Linked DNA regions of Homo sapiens: all the other regions are linked to region 5. The links are contacts of gene promoters, found by promoter capture Hi-C in blood cells and fetal thymus (Javierre and others, 2016). All regions are on one chromosome and are shown on one strand. Each heading gives the region's core, a stretch centred on a gene start or on the middle of the fragment in contact. The rest is flanking DNA. Distances are from core to core; before and after follow the strand shown.

The links. Contacts are between HindIII fragments. The CHiCAGO score rates a contact against its expected background, and 5 or more counts as called.
Region 1: a contact is called between a fragment that was not itself captured here and the fragment with the promoter of MTDH in region 5, in 1 of 17 cell types (fetal thymus). The highest score is 5.8, in fetal thymus.
Region 2: the fragment with the promoter of CCNE2 here is called in contact with the fragment with the promoter of MTDH in region 5 in 4 of 17 cell types (fetal thymus, total B cells, activated CD4 T cells and 1 more); the score reaches 14.9 in fetal thymus.
Region 3: a contact is called between a fragment that was not itself captured here and the fragment with the promoter of MTDH in region 5, in 1 of 17 cell types (non-activated CD4 T cells). The highest score is 5.6, in non-activated CD4 T cells.
Region 4: a contact is called between a fragment that was not itself captured here and the fragment with the promoter of MTDH in region 5, in 1 of 17 cell types (naive CD8 T cells). The highest score is 8.8, in naive CD8 T cells.
Region 6: a contact is called between a fragment that was not itself captured here and the fragment with the promoter of MTDH in region 5, in 1 of 17 cell types (fetal thymus). The highest score is 7.5, in fetal thymus.
Region 7: a fragment that was not itself captured here is called in contact with the fragment with the promoter of MTDH in region 5 in 1 of 17 cell types (total CD4 T cells); the score reaches 5.0 in total CD4 T cells.

Annotation. Positions count from the first base shown.
Region 1 is chr8:100,313,861-100,316,560 of GRCh38, forward strand. It overlaps a transcript of RNF19A not described here. Among named protein-coding and RNA genes, the nearest start is that of RNF19A, 5.3 kb to the left of the region's middle. RefSeq lists enhancers at 1-30, 2,214-2,273, 2,294-2,353. The HindIII fragment of the contact is 466 bases long and covers 1,043-1,508 here.
Region 2 is chr8:94,893,899-94,896,598 of GRCh38, forward strand. It overlaps CCNE2 (cyclin E2), which reads right to left and starts at 1,303. Exons shown (of 12, transcript NM_057749.3): 1 at 1,279-1,303; 2 at 310-349; 3 at 125-221; 4 at 1-46. The coding sequence starts at 323. It also overlaps a transcript of NDUFAF6 not described here. RefSeq lists an enhancer at 115-676 and silencers at 1,293-1,512, 1,893-1,992, 2,123-2,172, 2,343-2,392, 2,673-2,700. The HindIII fragment of the contact is 5,265 bases long and covers 1-2,700 here.
Region 3 is chr8:94,816,867-94,819,566 of GRCh38, forward strand. No RefSeq gene overlaps it. Among named protein-coding and RNA genes, the nearest start is that of INTS8, 5.1 kb to the right of the region's middle. The HindIII fragment of the contact is 7,350 bases long and covers 1-2,700 here.
Region 4 is chr8:95,018,522-95,021,221 of GRCh38, forward strand. It overlaps a transcript of NDUFAF6 not described here. Among named protein-coding and RNA genes, the nearest start is that of NDUFAF6, 5.1 kb to the right of the region's middle. The HindIII fragment of the contact is 2,619 bases long and covers 1-2,612 here.
Region 5 is chr8:97,642,864-97,645,563 of GRCh38, forward strand. It overlaps MTDH (metadherin), which reads left to right and starts at 1,321. Exons shown (of 12, transcript NM_178812.4): 1 at 1,321-2,024. The coding sequence starts at 1,644. RefSeq lists silencers at 909-1,018, 1,199-1,658, 1,929-1,998, 2,282-2,450 and enhancers at 1,171-2,151, 2,152-2,700. The HindIII fragment of the contact is 3,502 bases long and covers 536-2,700 here.
Region 6 is chr8:100,217,952-100,220,651 of GRCh38, forward strand. It overlaps SPAG1 (sperm associated antigen 1), which reads left to right. Exons shown (of 19, transcript NM_003114.5): 13 at 2,328-2,480. It overlaps LOC105375669 (a long non-coding RNA gene), which reads right to left and starts at 2,332. Exons shown (of 3, transcript XR_928450.3): 1 at 1,148-2,332. The HindIII fragment of the contact is 1,993 bases long and covers 416-2,408 here.
Region 7 is chr8:94,847,371-94,850,070 of GRCh38, forward strand. It overlaps INTS8 (integrator complex subunit 8), which reads left to right. Exons shown (of 27, transcript NM_017864.4): 11 at 2,092-2,162; 12 at 2,546-2,700. Among named protein-coding and RNA genes, the nearest start is that of INTS8, 25 kb to the left of the region's middle. The HindIII fragment of the contact is 1,689 bases long and covers 432-2,120 here.

The DNA.
Region 1 (2,700 bases), core at 26-2,525, 2.7 Mb after region 5:
TGGAATGGAATAAAAGTGGCAAGTAAAGAGAAAGAGAACTACTTTTTTTTTGAGACAGAGTCTTACTCTGTCACCCAGTGGCTCAATATTGGCTCATTGCAACCTCCACCTCCTGGGCTTAAACAATCTTCCCCCCTCAGCCTCATGAGTAGCTGGGACTTCAGGCACATGCCACCATGCCTGGCTAATTTTTGTATTTTTTGTAGAGACGAGGTTTTGCCATGTCGCTCAGGTGGGTCTTGAACTCCTGGGCTTAAGTAATCTGCCCAGCTCAGCCTTACAAAGTGCTGGGATTGCAGGCATGAGCCACGTGCCCAGCCGAGAACTACTCTTTATTGCATACATACTATATATACTATATATAGTACACTATATGTTCACTTTATTGAGTACACATACTATATATACTTTTTATTGAGTACATATACTATATGACAGGCACTATTCTGATTGCTTTATAAGTATTAAGCCACTTAGTTTATCATCAAGAATCCCTAAAGCTCCCAAATTAGGATCTGAGGCACAAGAGTTTAAGTAATTTGCTGAAAGTTACGTAGCTAAGTGGCAGAGCTGGGATTTGGACCATCCGGCAGGCTGGCTCCAGAGCTCATGCTCTTCTCTTAAACCTACCCCTGGCCCCTTCCCTGGTGTCACAGCCTAAGTGAACATTTCTTTAGCCACAGTAAGGTACTAGCAGTACCACAAATCCCCCCATCCTTTCCTGTCTTCCTTCTCTTCTCTTTCTCACACACCCTGCTAACTTTCTTTCTCTTTGTAGGTACTACCTAGCTTTGCAGATGCTACTATGCCTAAAATGCCCCCTCCCCTCTCCTCTGCCTGGCTCATTTCTATCAACTCTCACTGGTCCTGACAGGCTAAATCAAGCTCACATTCCCTAGCTCCACAACAACCATGCTTACCTCTATAATTTTTCTGTATAAAGTACTTCATTGTCATTATTTGTAGGCCTTTCCCACTAAACTTTGAAGGTAGAGAACTTAATGCCTGACACCTAGTGAGAGAAAGAGGAAGCAGGCACAGAAGCTTAGCTATGCACATGACATGCCTTCCCTAGGTGCTGCGAGACACCAATATGGTAAAGTATCGTCCCTCCCCTTGAGCAGCTTGTAAACTTGCCAGGGAAACTGACATCGAGAAAATCACTCTAGGCCAGTGTGCTGGCACATGCCTGTAATCCCAGCACTTTGGGAGGCTGAGGCAAGCAGATGATTTGGGCCTAGGCAACATGACAAAACCCATCTCTAGGAGTTTTGTCGTGTGCCCAGGCATGGTGGCACACACCTGTAGTCCGAGCTACTCAGGAGGCTAAGGTGAAAGGATCACTTAAGCCTGGGAGTTGTAGGGTGCAGTGAGCCAAGATCACACCACTGCACTCCAGCCTGGATGATCTATGTATACTCACTCTAATATAAGAGCCAATAAAGTACATATGATATAGACACAGGACAAGGTACCATTAATTGTGCTTCAGGACATCAAAGGCAAGAAGCTTGGCCTTATGTTTGTTTCACTGGGGGGGAAAAATGCAACCAGGAATGAATGGGAGCTTGGGGGCTTTAGTCTCCACCATCATTTCACCTGGCTTAGGGAGGCAGTCTGGGGCCTTGTCCAGGGAGAAAGAGATTCTCTTTCAGCACAATTGATCATTGGAATGTGCTACTTCTTGACTCTCCTCCTTACCTGTCCTTATGTGACTAAATATACTGATTTCCAAATTGATTCAGTTTCTTTCCCAGCAGGGTCATGGAAATTTTTCTTCTTCGTCGTCTTGTTGTTGTTGTTGTTGTTGAGACAAGGTCTCACTCTGTTGTCCAGGTGGGAGTGCAGTGGTGCAGTGCGATCACCTTGACCTCTTGGACTCAAGCGATCCTCCCACCTCAGCCTCCTGAGTAGCTGGGACTACAGGTGTGTGGCACCATGCCTGGCTAATCTTGCTTGTTAAAATAGATTTCTGAGTTTCATATCAGACTAACAGACTCATTTTCTATGGGGTTGGGGTGCTAGAATCTAGTTTTCCACAAGCTCTCCAGGTAATTCATATCACATGTTTGAGAACCACAGCATAAGTGTGGCTGGAATTGGTGGGTTCTTGGTCTCACTGACTTCAAGAATGAAGCCGTGGACCCTTGCGGTGAGTGTTACAGCTTTTAAGGTGGCGCATCTGGAGTTTGTCCCTTCTGATGGTCAGATGTGTTCGGAGTTTCTTCTTTCTGGTGGGTTCGTGGTCTCGCTGGCTCAGGAGTAAAGCTGCAGACCTTCGCGGTGAGTGTTACAGCTCTTAAGACGGCGTGTCTGGAGTTGTTCCTTCCTCCCAGTGGGCTTGTGGTCTCGCTGGCTCAGGAGTGAAGCAGCAGACCTTCGCGGTGAGTGTTACAGCTCATAAAAGCAGCGTGGACCCAAAGGGTGAGCAGTAGCAAGATTTACTGCAAAGAGCGAAAGAACGAAGCTTCCACAGTGTGGAAGGGGACCCCAGTGGGTTGCCACTGCTGTCCCGGGCAGCCTGCTTTTAGTCTCTTATCTGGCCCCACCCACATCCTGCTGATTGGTAGAGCCAAGTGGTCTGTTTTGACAGGGTGCTGATTGGTGCCTTTACAATCCCTGAGCTAGATATAAAGGTTCTCCATGTCCCCATCAGATTAGTTAGATACAGAGTATCAACACAAAGGTTCTCCAAGGCCC
Region 2 (2,700 bases), core at 53-2,552, 2.7 Mb before region 5:
CATACTGATGTTTCTTGGTGACCTCCTCTCTTCTTTTTTTGACATCCTGGAAAATAGAAAAGACCATTGGTAAACTAAAGTCCCAGCATGGAATTTCGTTCCTCCCTCTTTCTCCTTAAATCACCTGGGTAGTTTTCCTCTTCTTGGCCTGGATTATCTGGGCTTCTTGGGGGGATTCCGTCTGGCTGGGCTGGGGCTGCTGCTTAGCTTGTAAACGGCTACTGTAGTGAATTTTTAAAAAGGAAGTGTAATTAGTAAGTTAAAGGCAGCAACTAATTTGAAACATGTCTCTAAGACAGATAATGTTACCTTCGTCTTGACATTCTCTTCTTTCAGGTGTATAAAACCTCTGAAGGGGGGAGAGGAAAAGCCGCAGTCAAGTACATTGTCATTCACATTCTCCAAGTGCCAGTAAGACGCTGATTCGCAGGTGAAAGCTCAGTCCCTCCGAAGGGGGCCTGGGCCCTGTGACCCTGCCATCTTCTGTGCTATGTTAGCTAGCTCATGGTAATTCATTTTGGATACAAGCCTGCATTTCCTCAACTGAATGTACAGCTGGAACGCGAGTGTCCAAAAATTTACCAAGCACTCCTGACACCTTGAACGCGCAGGGAGGCACATCTTCCTCAAACGGGTTTTTCTGGGTCCTCCACCCTCTCCCCCGTACACCGGGAGTGGGGCTTGGGCAGCGCCCCCACGTCCCGCCTCCCTCCTGGACCAGCGGGGAGAGGGGGTTGTGGAGGCGAAATGCTGTGGAGAAGCCGGTTCCGCGCCAATTTGGAGAGCGGCGGTGGCGGGGAAGCAGGGGGCGGAGGAACCAAGACTGGTGTCACGGCCTCCAGTCTCCTTTCCCTCCTTCCCGGCCCTGCCGCCCTACCGCCGCTCGGAGGGGCGCCGGGACCCCAACTCCAGATGGGAAGCGGAGGGCGTGGGGGAGGGCAGGAAAAGGAGCTAAAGAAAGGGGAGACTGGGCTGGCTGGGAACTTTTCTCCCCATGGAGGGGACCCGGCCTCCCATCCTCTCTCCCACGGGATAGCTCCCCAAATGAGGGTGGGATAGAGAAGCCCCTAGAATGAGGGGCGGCTCTCCATGCCCAGCCGCTTCCCGGTCCCCTGCCAAGGTTCCTGACAGGGACGGAACGCGGGAACCCATGACCCCCAGTCGTCTAGTTCTCAGCCCTCCCGATTTTCCTCCCTGAGGCTCCCGCCTGTGGTAAGTGATCGGCCCAACTGGGCTTTCTTTCCTCCCACATCCCCCCTACGCGCAGCAACTCCTCACCGCCAGACCAGCTACCGCTCGGCTCAGCTGGCGCCGGCGCCAACCCAATATATAGGCCGGGCCGGTCCCGCCCCGCACGCATGCGCCTCAGACTGACACCTCCGGACAGCGCGCTCCCCTCTCCCGCCCGTCCGCCCGCGTGCCCGCGCGCCGCGCCCTGCTCTCAGTGCGCGCCCGCCACCCGGAGCGGCCGTGGGGTCCACTCTACCGGGCCTTCTGCCCGCGTCCACCGCGCTCCACGGCGCGGCCGGCGGCGGTAGGGAAACTCTCAGGGGCTCCTTCTCCGCGGCTGTTCTCCCCGCCGCCTGGCTCGCGCATCTCCCGCCAGTTTGCTTTTGCTTCCTCCCACTGCAACTCCTGGATTTCGGGGGTGTCAGCCTGCGGCTCAGCCCGGGCGCATAACAGGGGGACACGACTCGGGCGACCATAGGGTGGCTGGGAAGTGACCGTCCAGGGGCGCGCCCTAGCTGTCCCGCCAAGGCCTCAGGGAACCCAGGTCTTTCCTGAGCGACGCGGGGACCCGAGGGCCCGCCCCTCGGGGAGGAGCAAAGCGTTGGCTGAAGAGCTGGCCAATGGGAGGCACGGGCGGCAGCACAACGTGGAGTGGCTGCAGAATGTAAACACCACTCAGCCACGCGCCTGGCCAAGTGCGGCTCTGCTCTCCCCAGTCCCGGTCCGCGACCACCCGGAGCCCGCTCCGCCGGCCTTGCGCGGCGCGCCCAGGGAAGGCATTTCCAGCCCGCCCACCCAGGTATGTATCAACCCTGCTTTCCGGCTCCCTGCTCCCCCTACCGGGTTTCCCTCCCCATGGGTCGGTCGCTCCCCCAACCCGCCGCTCTGCCCCTGCAGTGGCCTCCAGCTGCCACCCCGCAGTCCCCGCGCAGGAAACGCTCGCGCCACGCCGCGCCCTCCCTTGCTTCCTCTCTTCTCCACCTCCAATTCCGGGATCCCAGAGGGTAAAACCCCTCTCCGGAGCGGGGCCCGGGAACGGCATTCCTCCTCCCCCTGAGCGCGGTGGTCCCCGGGGACCTGGCCGGGTGGGAAGAAAGATCGCCACCACGTGCAGGCCCCGGGCCCGCCTGCCGCGCCCCGCCCCGCCGCCGCCGCCAGCGCGCCCTGCGGAGCCCGCGCGAGCCGGCAGCGCGGGAGGGCGCCGTTCGCGCCCGAGCGCTGTTGGGAGGAGGGGGGCCCGACGCTCTTCCTTTATCCTTCCCCGGGTGTTTAAACTTAGGGGTCCCTTCGCTGCCTCTATGAATGCCCCCACAACTGGCGCACCCCAAAACTGCACATCGTCAAGTCAGACTTGCGGCGGGTATTCCGCAAACAGGTTTTGCGGCGGGAGCAGCGAGGCGGGGAACAGCTCCGGGAACAAAGATCCCCCGGGTGGAGGAGCAGTGCGAAGGCGTCTCGGAACCCGCGGTA
Region 3 (2,700 bases), core at 170-2,669, 2.8 Mb before region 5:
TCTGCAAAAAAATAAATAAATTAGCTGGGCATGGTGGTATTCATCTGTGGTCCCAGCTACTCAGGAGGCTGAGGCAGAAGGATCACTTGAACCCAGGATGTCAAGGAGGCAGTGAGCTAAATGCCACTGCACTCCAGCCTGGGCAACAGAGAGATACCATCACAAAACAAACAAACAAAAACCAGAACGGGGTGCGGTGGCTCACGTCTGTAATCCCAGCACTTTGGGAGGCTGAGGCGGGTAGATCACCTGAGGTCAGGAGTTCGAGACCAGCCCGGTCGACATAGTGTAACCTGTCTCTACTAAAAATACAAAAATTAGCCAGGCATGGTGGCGTGCCTGTAATCCCAGCTACTCTGGAGGCTGAGGTAGGAGAATCACTTGAACCTGGGAGGTGGAGGTTGCAGCGAGCCAAGAGCGCACCATTGCACTCCAGCCTGGGCAACAGAGCAAGACTCTGTCTCAAAAAAAAAAAATACAGATAAAGTTGAAGTACCTGTGACCCCCCTCCCCCACTCCTTCCCCCCATTCACCTCTCCTCTCCCCTTCTCTAACCCACCCCTGTTCTATCCTCCTTCCCTCTTCTCTTCAGAGCCAAACACAGTAGGATTTTGATGTGCATGCCTCAATAAAATAGTTTCTCAGATTTTTTAGTCTCAGGGCCCTGTTAGACCAAAAAATTATTAAGCACTTAAAAGAGTGTTTGTTTATATTTACCATATTAAAAATTAACACTGAGAAGTTTTAAAAATATTTAATTTATTTAAATTAAAATAAAATAATCATATAAAAATAAAAATAATCCTATTACATGCTGACAAATACAATTTTATATAAAATAACTATTTTCATTTTAAAAACTAGAAGAGTGGCATTGCTCACATAGATGAGTAGTTAAAAAAAGAAGTATTTTATATCTTTTCGGATAATTATGGACTTTCTTCACCAAAACCTGAGAAAGTGGTTGTTTCTTAAAGATTAGCTGCAATTTTAAATCTGAAATCATACCAATTAACTTTTCAAATTCCGTTCCATTACAATTCATCAGTCTGTCTTGAAATTTTTTGTTTTGTTTTGTTTTGAGATGGAGTCTTGCTCTGTCGCCCAGGCTGGAGTACAGTGATGCGATTTCTGCTCACTGCAACCTCTGCCTCCCGGGTTCAAGCTATTCTCCTGCTTCAGACTCCTGAGTAGCTAGGATTACAGGCACCTGCCACCATGCCAGCTAATTTTTGTATTTTTAATAGAGACAGGGTTTGATCACGTTGGCCAGGCTGGTCCAAACTCCTGACCTCGTCATCCTCCCACCTCGGCCTCCCAAAGTGCTGGGATTACAGGCATGAGCCACCGTGCCCAGCTGAAATTTTTTATTTATTTACTTTTAAGAGGCAGGGTCTCGCTCTGTCACCCAGACTGGAGTACAGTGGCATGATCATAGCTCGCTGCAGTCTCCAACTCCTGGTTTCAAGTGATCATCCTGCCCCTGCCTCCCAAAGTGTTGGGATTACAGGCATGAGCCACTGTGCTCGGCTTGTCTTGGAATTTAAATAAATCTTTTAGCCATATATTAGGAAAATATTGATTGATTTGTCAAGTTGTGATGATCATCTGAAAGTTGACACATTTAAATATACATTTGTTAATATCGCCATTGGTGTCATCAGAAAAGTCTTGTCAAGTATTGGGAAGCTGCCAAGTTTACAGTTTTCTAAAATTCTAATTTTACTTAAAAAGTTGAATGTTGGCCAGGAGCGGTGGCTCATGTCTGTAATCCCAGCACTTTGGGAGGCCAAGGTGGGAGGATCACTTGAGGTCAGGAGTTCAAGACCAGTCTGGCCAACATGGTGAAACCCCATCTCTACTAAAAATAGAAAAATTAGCCAGGTGTGGTGGTGGCAGTGCCTGTAATCCCAGCTATTCGGGAGGCTGAGGCAGGAGAATCGCTTGAACCTGAGAGGTGGAGGTTGCAGTGAGCGGTGATAGCACCATTGCACTCCAGCCTGGGCAGCAAGAGCAAAACTCCATCTCAAAAAAAAAAAAAAAAAATTGAATGTTATTATTCGCCACAAATGGTGTTAGTTGTTTTCCATAAAGTGACATGACAGGCTCACTTTGTTCAAGAAAATGTCTGCTAAATACCCAAGTCTGAATGACCACAGTCTGTTCTCATTCTTTCTTTCTTTTCTTTTTTTTTTTTTTTTTGAGACAGGGTCTCACTCTGTCACCCACCTGAGTGCAGTGGTGCAATCTCGGCTCACTGTAGCCTCATCCTCTTGGGCTCAAGCAATCCTCCCACCTCAGTTTCCCACATAGCCAGGACTACAGACGCACACCACCATCCCAGCCTTATTTTTTATTTTGATTTTTTTGTAGAGACAGAAGTCTCACTATGCTGCCCAGATACGTCTTGAATTCCTGGACTCTCCACCTCAGCCTCCCAAAGTGCTGGGATTACAGGCGTGAGCCACTGCACTCGGCCAGTTTCTGTTGTTTTAAACCACAAAGTTTGTGGTAATTTGTTACAGCAGCCACTTGAAACAGATACAATGAGTATGTCACATTTTATTTGTCTATTCACCAGGTTATAGACCTTGGTTTCTACTTTTAGGCTACTGTAGATACTGCTGTTCTAAACATTCAAGTCTTTGTGTGGGTACATTTTCTCCTTTCTCTTGGATACATACCTAGAAGGGGAATTGC
Region 4 (2,700 bases), core at 53-2,552, 2.6 Mb before region 5:
CTTGTTCCCTTTCCTCAAGGTGCTCCCAATCTGTTTTGTGGGGACAGACAAGAAAACATCTGAGAAGACAGGTGGGGGTGGGAAGAGGGGGTGTGCAACCCAGACATTGGGATAAAAACACAGGCATAAAGATGCCCATTAAACACAAATTGTATTGAACTGATTGAACTGATCTTGGTACATTAGTGGACAGCAACCAATTCAGGTGCCAAAAGAGAAATGAGAAAGAGAAGGAACAGGACAAGATGAAGAAAGAAGAAGAAATGACATCATAAGCCTTTAGGCTCCTAACCACTTCCCCCTACAATACACACAATGGGTGATGGGGTGATGATCACAGATATGCTATATTCCCTGGGTACTTGACTTAGGGGCTATGGCATAGGCAAGGTATTTGTGGTTTCTGGTACATAGCTGTAACTCCACCCATTTCTCTCCCATGTTGAAAATGACATTATCATCAGGATAACTTGGAGTCATCTCATATATATATTTACTTATTTATTTTGAGACAGAGTCTCGCTCTAGACCCTGGCTGGAGTGCGATGGCATGATCTTGGCTCACTGCAACCTCCACCTCTCAGCTTCAAGCGGTTCTCCTGCCTCAGCCTCCCAAGTAGCTGGGACTACAGGTTTGCGCCACCATGCCCAGTTAATTTTTGTATTTTTAGTAGAGACAGGGTTTTGCCATGTTGGCCAGGCTGTCTCAAACTCCTGGCCTCAAGTGATCTGCCTGCCTTGGCCTCCCAAAGTGCTGGGATTACAGGCGTGAGCCACTGCACCCCGCCTCATCTCTAATATATACACAAAGCAAACAATAGTATTTTCAAACTTTAGTTCTTTATTGTAATTAGAAACAACTTGTGCAGAGACAACCCACCATACCCATGTGACAACTATGACAAGTCTTGTCTGTGTCTTATGTAGGGGTCATCATCAATCTTCCTCTTCCTACATGTGATTTTGTATGCATTAAATCTATGGAACATTTCGCAGGTATGCCCCAGAATGGCTGATGGTCCATTTTTGGTAGGTGTGAAAAGATAAGAGAAAAAAAACCTAAAGAAATGACAGCTTTGGTATTGAAAAATTGGCAATATAAGATCATAGTGGAAACCAAAGAGTGAAATGAATAAAACTGCAATTGCATAACATAGTGACCACTTTGCCTCTTCTTGTTTCTGAGAGAACAGTGTGTAGGTGTCCTTTTAGCAAATGAAAAATATGCCACCTAATAGGTATTTGACATTGGCTAATTTTGTTAGTTTCTAGTGCCCCTTCCATACTACGTGTATAACCAGTACTAAATGCTCAAAAACTATTGAATTGATAGATGACTTTCTTTCAAATCTAAAATTGTACAATTCTATATTTTTTAAAAAAATGGTAATTGAGGGCCAGGCATGAAGGCTCATGCCTGTAATCCCAGCACTTTGGGAGGCCGAGGCAGGCAGATCGCCTGAGGTCAGGAGTTTGAGACCAGTCTGGCCAACATGGTGAAACCCTGTCTCTACTAAAAATACAAAAATTAGCTGGGTGTGGTGGTGGGTGCCTGTAATCCCAGCTACTTGGGAGGCTGAGGCAGGATAATTGCTTGAACCCGGGAGGTGGAAGTTGCAGTGAGCGGAGATCGCACCATTGCACTCCAGCCTGGGCGACAAGAGTGAAACTTTGTCTCAAAAAAACAAAGGTAATTGAGGATAAGTAAACTACCCAAAAAGCATGATGCATTCAAGTTCCTCTTTTTCATAGCTGCTGATAATAGGTTCCTTAAAATCAGATAACTGTAAGGCTTGACTATTAAACGAATAGTGGAAACCCTTCACAAGGGGAAATATTCCTTTCAACTTTGTATTTTCTTCATATTCTGCCCTTCTTAAACTTGCTGAGTCTGATTTGCTCTTTCAGTCACTAAGACTGCAAGCCTGTATGGTGCCTTGTTATAAATGAGAAGGTCCCCATCTGGGCTGAGGCAGCCCTGCAGGCACATGCCTCTCTGTGTGAAGAGAAAGGCTACCCTTCCTCTGAGCAGAGACAATGCCACACCAGCCCACACCAGCCCCTCTTGCTCCCTTAGCCAGGCATGTTTGTGCAGTGCACACACTGCATAACCTGGTGTCTTATTTCCGGTGCCAAAAAACTTGGCCTTCAGAACGATACACTAACACCTCCCAATGCCAGGCACTTGGCCAGGCACTGGAGATAAAAAGAGGAGTAAGAAAACATCTACCTTTGGCAGTCTGGGAAGAGGGCCATATAAGCAGATCACCACAGTAAGACCTGGCAAAGTGATCAAACATGAACACAAATTGTTATAGGATCAAAACTGGGGGAACAACTCTTTTTTTCTTGGATGGGGTTATGGTCAAGGAAAATTCAGGAAGGAAGAGGTGTTTAATTAGGTGTTTGGGGGATGAGTAGAGGTTCATGAAAGGGAAAAAGGGCATTAGAACTTTTGTGGTGACAAGGACAAACTTAGAGCTCTCCTCCTATAACCCCAAATCTCAGGAAAGCCTTGGGTTGCGGCTTACTTTGATTTAGGTCTTGAATCACACCATTTTTGTTGGGTTTGTCTTTCTACATGTCTTTTTGCCTTTGAAGTGATCCAGACAAGCTTAGCAGTGGGGTTTGTAAAAACAGTGTAATAAACATTGCCCATTTGCCAGGACTGTCCTCTGTGTAGCTCTCTTGGGAGTCTGT
Region 5 (2,700 bases), core at 71-2,570:
GTATTTAGTTCACTTAAGACAGTTGCTTACACGCTAATGATCATTTACCGATAAAATACAGAGTTTCCTTATAGCAAAATATAATCTTAAAACCCTAAGGCAGCCTTCAAGCATTTCCCTTATAATTAAAACCTGAAGGCCTGGCGTGGTGGCTCACGCCTGTAATCCCAGCACTTTGGGAGGCTGAGGTGGGCGGATCACGAGGTCAGGAGATCAAGACCATCCTGGCTAACACGGTGAAACCCCGTCTCTACTAAAAATACAAAAAATTAGCCGGGCGTGGTGGTGGGTGCCTATAGTCCCAGCTGCTCGGGAGGCTGAGGCAGGAGAATGGCTTGAACCCAGGAGGCGGACCTTGCAGTGAGCGGAGATAGTGCCACTGCACTCCAGCCCGGGCGACAGAGCGAGACTCTTGTCTCAAAAAAAAAAAATTTGAAAAGGCAGTTCGTTTCCTTCTATAGCTGCATCCCAGAGATGGTCAACATAGCATATAAAAATGGAATTTTTGCAAACCCCTTTTGCAGTGTTGTAGAAAAGCTTAAAATAAAACGTAACGAGAAAGCTCCCTCCATAAGTAAATACAATCTAATGTGCTTCCCCTTATGTGTTATTAAAGCTACAAATTAGTAGGAAAAGAATAGTGCCGCCCACGGGCTTTCCAACTTTTGAATTCTGGGGACTAACAACAGAGAGCAAGAGTGAATGAGCCAAACGACGCAAACGTGCCCTCGCCAGGCTGGCAACTGGTAGGCACGCAGTGTATTAGTTGCCCTGGAGAGAAACACCCTGGAGAGAAATACCCAATTTGTGAACTAAACCTAGGTCCCGGAAGAACAGTGTTCGGCGTCAGACTCCGTTGAGCTCATTCTGGAAGGATCCAACTGGCGCCACCAGGGAGAAAAAGCGATTCCACCTCAATAACACTCCAGAAAAAGGCATGAAGAGCCCTATACCTGCCAGGGCGACTTTGACCTAGACCCGGTGACCCGGTTCCTAGCGCTGCAGCCCTACCCGCCCCCCGCCCGCCCCCGCCTTGCACGGAGCCCCTCCTCTGTACTCATTCGTTGCGCCACGTCTCCTAACTCTGCGCCACCAGCCACCCCGCGAAGGCGTCCACCAATTAACCCCTCCCAGCTTCTGGTCTACAGTAACGGGTCCCCAACGCCGCGTCTTAACCAGGCCCGAACCGACCACCGCCAACCTTCCCTGACACGCCTTTGCCCCACCCGACCCCGCCCGCCCCCACGTGACGCCCACGCCCCGCCCACTGGCGCCCACGTGACCCACGGTCGTCCCCGCGCGCGGCGTGGATCGCGGCCCAAGCCGCCATTGTTCCGCCGAGGGAGGACAGCGGGGCCTGGCGCTGGCGCCGAGACGCCGCTTAGCGGCCGCCACTGGAGACACTCCCTCCCGCCTCCCGGGTCTCCTGGCGGCGGCGGAGTGAGGCTGACAGCGGGGAACCTGGGAGACCCCTCCGCCCTCCCCGCGGTGGCAGCGGCCGATCCCCGGCTCCGGCGCGAGGGACGGCCGCGATGCGCTCGGCCTGAGGTTACCCGGCCCGGCCCTTCCTCGCTTCCCTCGACTATTCCACTGCGTCTCCGCGCCCCGGCGTCATCCTGCGAGTCCCTCTGACGGGAGGGAAGATGGCTGCACGGAGCTGGCAGGACGAGCTGGCCCAGCAGGCCGAGGAGGGCTCGGCCCGGCTGCGGGAAATGCTCTCGGTCGGCCTAGGCTTTCTGCGCACCGAGCTGGGCCTCGACCTGGGGCTGGAGCCGAAACGGTACCCCGGCTGGGTGATCCTGGTGGGCACTGGCGCGCTCGGGCTGCTGCTGCTGTTTCTGCTGGGCTACGGCTGGGCCGCGGCTTGCGCCGGCGCCCGCAAAAAGCGGAGGAGCCCGCCCCGCAAGCGGGAGGAGGCGGCGGCCGTGCCGGCCGCGGCCCCCGACGACCTGGCCTTGCTGAAGAATCTCCGGAGCGAGGAACAGAAGAAGAAGAACCGGAAGAAACTGTCCGAGAAGCCCAAAGTGAGTATGGGATGAGCGGCAGTAGAGAACGGGCGAAGGGCGGGCGTGGAGACCCTCGAGCTTGGGGGAGGCCGCGCCCCAGCCGGGAAGGAAAAGAGTGCTTAGTCGAAAGCCGAGAGGCAGCACTCCCAAGTGGAGGAGGAGGTGATAGGTGGTCATGTTATTTGGGGAATGGGGGGAACTCAGGAAGTATAGGACGAGTGGGGAAGCCCAGTTTCGAGGAAGGAAGTTAGGAGGTCTGGGGGTCCGTTCAGATAGGCGCCCAGAGGTCAAGCCATCTTTGGGAACCGTCACCGCTAGAATAAGCACAGCATCCTTCCTTGAGGCCTGCAGAGTAGGCTGCATGTGGAGCGTAATGGGACCTTAAGGTGGTGTTAGGAAGTTGTATAAAGACTGCGCTCGGAAGACAGATGTCTATCTCAAGTCACATTGAGACAGTAGGCAGTGGAAGAAGTGCGGTGACCTAGAAATTCTGGGGCTTACACAGGATTAAAGGTGTCCAGGTCTAGACGCGCTTCCATTTTAGTTGGGACTGTTAAAGGGAAATGGTTGCCCATTCTTGTTCTGGCAAATGTGGCCAACAGAGGCCGGAACGGGAGCAAGGCAAGAGGGGGTCGGTTACCTAATACGCTTTGAGGTGTATGGTCCTGTGAGAAAGAGCTAAGGCGAGTTCAAC
Region 6 (2,700 bases), core at 162-2,661, 2.6 Mb after region 5:
TTTGTATTTTTTTTTTAGTAGAAACAGGGTTTTGCCATGTTGGCCAGGCTAGTCTTGAACTCCTGGCCTCAAGTGGTCTGCCAACCTTGGCCTCCCAAAGTTCTGGGATTACATACAGGCTTGAGCCACCGTGCCTGGCCAGTTCTCTGCTTTTTCTTATCTTTGCTACTCTCACAGTCTTGAAATTGGAAGATTTTTTAGGGTCTTAACTGTGTTACCTTGAATAGATAGCCTCTTTTGTAAGCTCTGCTTCAAAAGTTCTCTGTGCTTATTTTTATACATGGGTGGTTTTTTTCCTTAATGGAATTTCCATTCATAAGTTCATATTCATTTTCAGGATTGTAGTTAAAGAAATAAATTTACTGGGCAGAAAGTGCTAAAAATTAATACAGCATCTCATCAGTTTTAGATCCCAAGCTTGGCTTAAGGCCATCTTGAATAGATAAATGGCACCTTGGTCATTGGAAGTCTTCTGTGAAGTGAAGGTAGTCACATGGTTGTGACTCTGCTCATAGAGTTAATATTACCTAAACATTAAACTAAGCTAAATTTAAGGCAGTGGTACAGGTGACAGATCCTGATGCCCACAGATCTATTTTCTAGTGTTGAAATATGTTTACTTGATTTTAATTTTATATTTTAAATAACATTTACTGTTTTAAAAAACCACTTACCTATTATAGAAAACTTAAGAAAAAACTAGCACAGCACAAAGACTATCATTAAAATCACTCACAATCCTAACACCTAGGCAGAGTGAAATTGGTTATTTTTTCAGAGAAGTGAAGCAGATTAGGTTTAACAGCATTTCTAGAGTAACTTCTATGATATGCCAGAAGGGCTCCCACAAGTGCAGCTGAGTATCTGTATGATGTGGTCTGAGTGGCAAATGACTCAAGAGTTCCTTCATTTGCAGTGTTTGTATGTGTACTGCGGTAGGCAGAGTGTAGGCTTTTGAGGGCTCACAGAGAAGTTTGCTGAGTGCCTCTCATGACCCAGGTGATCTAGGACTGGGAATATAGTGGTGCTCAGGACAGGCAATGCCAATTGCCTTCCTGAAGCTCACATTAGAAAGAACTGACCTGTGGGCATGTCACTCCTCATGTTTCTGTTTCTTCACCCACATAATGAACATATTAATATTTACCTGACAGGTTTGTTGTGAGATTAGATGGGGAAGTCTACAGTGACTAGCACATAGCAGATACTCTGTCAATGTTTCCTCATTGCTGAATCATTGTAGACAGGAATAGACAGCAGATTTCTAAGAGTATCGGAAAAACAGCAAGTTAAAGAAAGCAGCCCTTGCTCATGCTTTCCTGGAAAGTTAAATACTTGTTATATTAACTGTTTATAGCATGAGTTGAAAGAATAAATCCACCATCTTCAATGTGGACAGTCTGGTGCAGATGTTAGTTAGGTTATATAGAAAGGAGGCTCTTCATAGGATCTCTGCATGGAGGACTTCTTTGCAGCTTCTGTTGATTTTGTTAAAACCAAGAGTACTATAGTTTTCATTCATAAATACAGATTTGTGATTCCTTAACCAAAGGCTCTGCGCTGCCTTTTGACTTAACATATTTTCAGTTTACCATGGGATTATTGGGACATAACCATATTGTAAATCGAGGATTATATGTACAGTTTTTTTATTGTTTTACTTCAGAATATAATGAAGTACGTTAAATGCTGAAGTAGCTTTAAACACTTCAAACAAAACCAAAAAACACAACCATGAGATACATCTTTAGTGATATTGGAAACACTTCATAGACTAAAACGTGCAAGATGAAAATTCATAACTTAGAAGAAATCATTGTAGGTTTAGTTCCTTGATTCCCCTTTGGTCTGTTTTTGAAGCCCTTTTGCAGCAAGTGAATCATAATGAACTAATAAGTTTTAGAGTGCCGATTTTCAAAATGTGATGCAACTTTTATGGTTCTGTACTTTATTATTAAATACATAGGTGCAAATAAGAATTTTCATTTTAATCTGTCAACGACAATCTGTTGAAACCCTGCTGTGTGCCTTGTGCCATGCTGCTCTGTTAGGGGACTGGGGAGGCCAGGACATGCTGCCAGGGAGCTCCCGGCTCAGTGGGAAAGAGTAAATGCAGAGTGCTTTGCTACTGGTTTAAAAGAAAGGAACACAAATATGATTGCTTTCTTACTCTGGGTTTGCCTTTCTGGCATGTTGCCTGGTTCCCAAGACGAAGTCTCGGATGTGTACATATTTGAGAGTTCAGTACTGCAGTATCTATTCAGTGAAGTATAAACGAAAGAGCATTTTTCAAAACAAATGGTATGTAATATTTTTGTCTTCTTTAGGGCTCTGGAACTTCATCCATTCTCTATGAAACCTCTTCTGAGGCGGGCGATGGCCTATGAAACTCTAGAGCAGTATGGGAAAGCTTATGTGGATTATAAAACAGTGTTGCAGATAGACTGTGGACTCCAGCTAGCAAATGACAGTGTTAACAGGTAATTAATCTGAGGCAGCTACCTAAAATCTAGTTGTTTTATACTGTTTTTCCCTTCCCCTCCTTCAAGAACATGTCAAAATATAGATGTGTTATCAGTTACTTTTATCACCTGAATGATTGCCTTCTTTTATTCCATTACATCAAATGGTTCTCTCCCTTAACTTAATTTCTGACTCTCCCTTAATTAATTCTGACTTGTCCTCTAATGCCTTTGTATT
Region 7 (2,700 bases), core at 26-2,525, 2.8 Mb before region 5:
TCCTTTGATTTTGGTGTCAAGGTCATGCTTGCCTTATAAATAAGTTGAGGCATCTGTCTTTTTTATTGTCTGGAAAAGTTTGTGTAAAAATGAAGTCATTGCTTCTTTCAGTGTTGGGTAGAATTTACCAGTAAAGTCTGGGCCTGGGTAATTTTTTTGTGGGAAGGTTTTTGATCAGTGATCATAGAACTATATTCTCGTTTTTCTAGAGTTAGTTTTAAGAAGTTATTTTCTAAGGATTTGTCCATTTCATCTTAAGTTTATTAGTATTAAAATTTATTATTTTAATATTAAAGCATCTACAGAGATGCCCACTAGTTTGAGTTTTTCTTTTTTTAAATTGAAGTGCATGAAATTCACATAACATGATCTGTTAGGTTTGCTTATTAGAAGTTACATGTTCCCTACATTGTTCCATGACACATGTACAAAGCTTCTCACTATGTGAATAAATAATCTGTTGTAAAAGGAGACTCAGATATTTATTACTCACCATAAGATATTTACATATGGCAGCAAAGAAACAAAGTTATTAGAATGTAAGTGTATAATACATACTCCAAGATGCTCAGATGTTATTTACTGATAGGTTAATTTGTTAATCAGAAAATGGTATTTGAACATAGCACTTTTAAAACACTGCTTTTTTTTTTTTTGAGATGGAGTCTCTCTCTGTTTCCCAGGCTAGAGTGCAGTGGCCTGATCTCCACTCACTCTAACCTCTGCCTCCTGGGTTGAAGTGATTCTCCTGCCTCAGCCTCCCCAAGTAGCTGGGACTACAGGCCCGTGTCACCATGCCCACGTAATTTTTTTTGTATTTTTAGTAGAGACGAGGTTTCACCATGTTGGCCAGGCTGATCTGGAACTCTTGACCTCAGGTGATCCACCTGTCTCAGCCTCCCAAAGTGCTGGGATTAGAGGCAGGAGCCACCGCACCAAGCCTGTTTTTTTAATAACAGTTTCATCAAGATATAATTCACATACCATACAGTTCACGCATTTAAAGTGTATAAGTCAGTGCGTTTTAGTGTATTCCTAGAGTTGTGCAGCTATCACTTCACTTCCTTTTTTCACTCCAAAAAGATAATCTCTTATTCATTACCTGTCACTCTTCATTTTCCCTCAATCTCGCACCACCTGAGGCAACTACTAATCTAATTTCTCTATAGATTTATCTGTTCTGGATATTTTATGTAAATGGAACTATGAAATAGATGATCTTTTGTAACTGGCTTCTTAGCACGTTTTCAATATTGTAGCATGTATCAGTACTTCACTTTTTATGGCTGAATAATACTTAATTGAATGGATATATACTGTATTTTGTGTGTTTATTCATCAGTTGGTAGACTGCAGGTTACTTATACTTTTTGGCTACTATGATTAATACTACTATGAACATTCTATTTTGTGTGTGTGTCAACGTAAAAAATATTTAGCAATTTCTTGAGATTATGGACTTTTACACTAGTTATATTTTATTTTGGCTTCTTATAAATAATATATTAGGAGGAATCCTAATCTAATGAATAAATTCAACATAATATGAAAATATTATTTGTAGATAACTAATATGACCATAACTAGTTTCTATTCTTTGTTTGCATTGTTTACTTTTTAAACCTTGGTTACCTTTTTAACTATTCATGAATAGCTCATGAATATAGAACCATTAGTTCTATATTCATGATAAATCACTTACTCTTTTCAATTATTTTCTTTTTGGTTTTAAAAATTTTTTATTTTTTTAACTCTTTTCTGACAGGAGCTACTGATTTCTATGGTTTATCACTTAATATAATTTGGCAACATAGTTGATAAATTCTGTGAGAACTGTATAGCATGGTAACTAGGTTATTCTTTGCTACATGTATACACCTGCACTTATTAAAATGGTCACATTCCATTCCCTCTTTGTGATGGATTGTTATTCCTTGGTCTGGTCTCTTCTGTTAAGTTACTTAACTAAATCTGTGATTGGTACATTGTTGAAAAAGGAAAATTCAGTTGTTTTTAAATCCAGCCTTTTCAAATTATAATTTACATTTTTATAAGTACCCATATTCAAATGAAAATTACTCAAATTCCTAGGTATGTTCAAGATCAGTAAATTTAGAAAAAGCTTCAGAGTCTTTGAAAGGAAACATGGCTGCTTTTCTAAAGTAAGTACCTTTCTTTTCTTTTTTCTTTTTTTTTTTAACTTTGAACTTAGTCCTGTGAACAAAATATCTGTATTATCTTTTGTTTTTGTCTTGGGTATCTTTTAACCAGGCAGTAACTGGTGTTTGAGAACCCATTAAGTTCAAATTTGTATAGCCACGTGAGACATTAGGATTATATAGTTACCTTTTTTTAATATTGTGGCATTGACATCACAATTTTAAATAAGGACCAAAGGGAAATTTTAAAATCTATTTTAAAATATCATTATACAGTTTATGTAATGGTGGCTTTTTAAATGGCTTATTAAAATTGGTTGATATGATTGTTTTTCTCAAACTAAATTATACACTTTTTTGTTTTACAATATTTCTTACTGATCTAGGAATGTGTGTCTGGGGTTGGAAGATCTGCAGTATGTTTTCATGATTTCTTCACATGAGCTTTTCATTACATTGTTGAAAGATGAAGAACGAAAGCTACTTGTTGATCAGATGAGGAAGAGATCCCCTAGAGTAAATCTGTGCATTAAACCTGTAA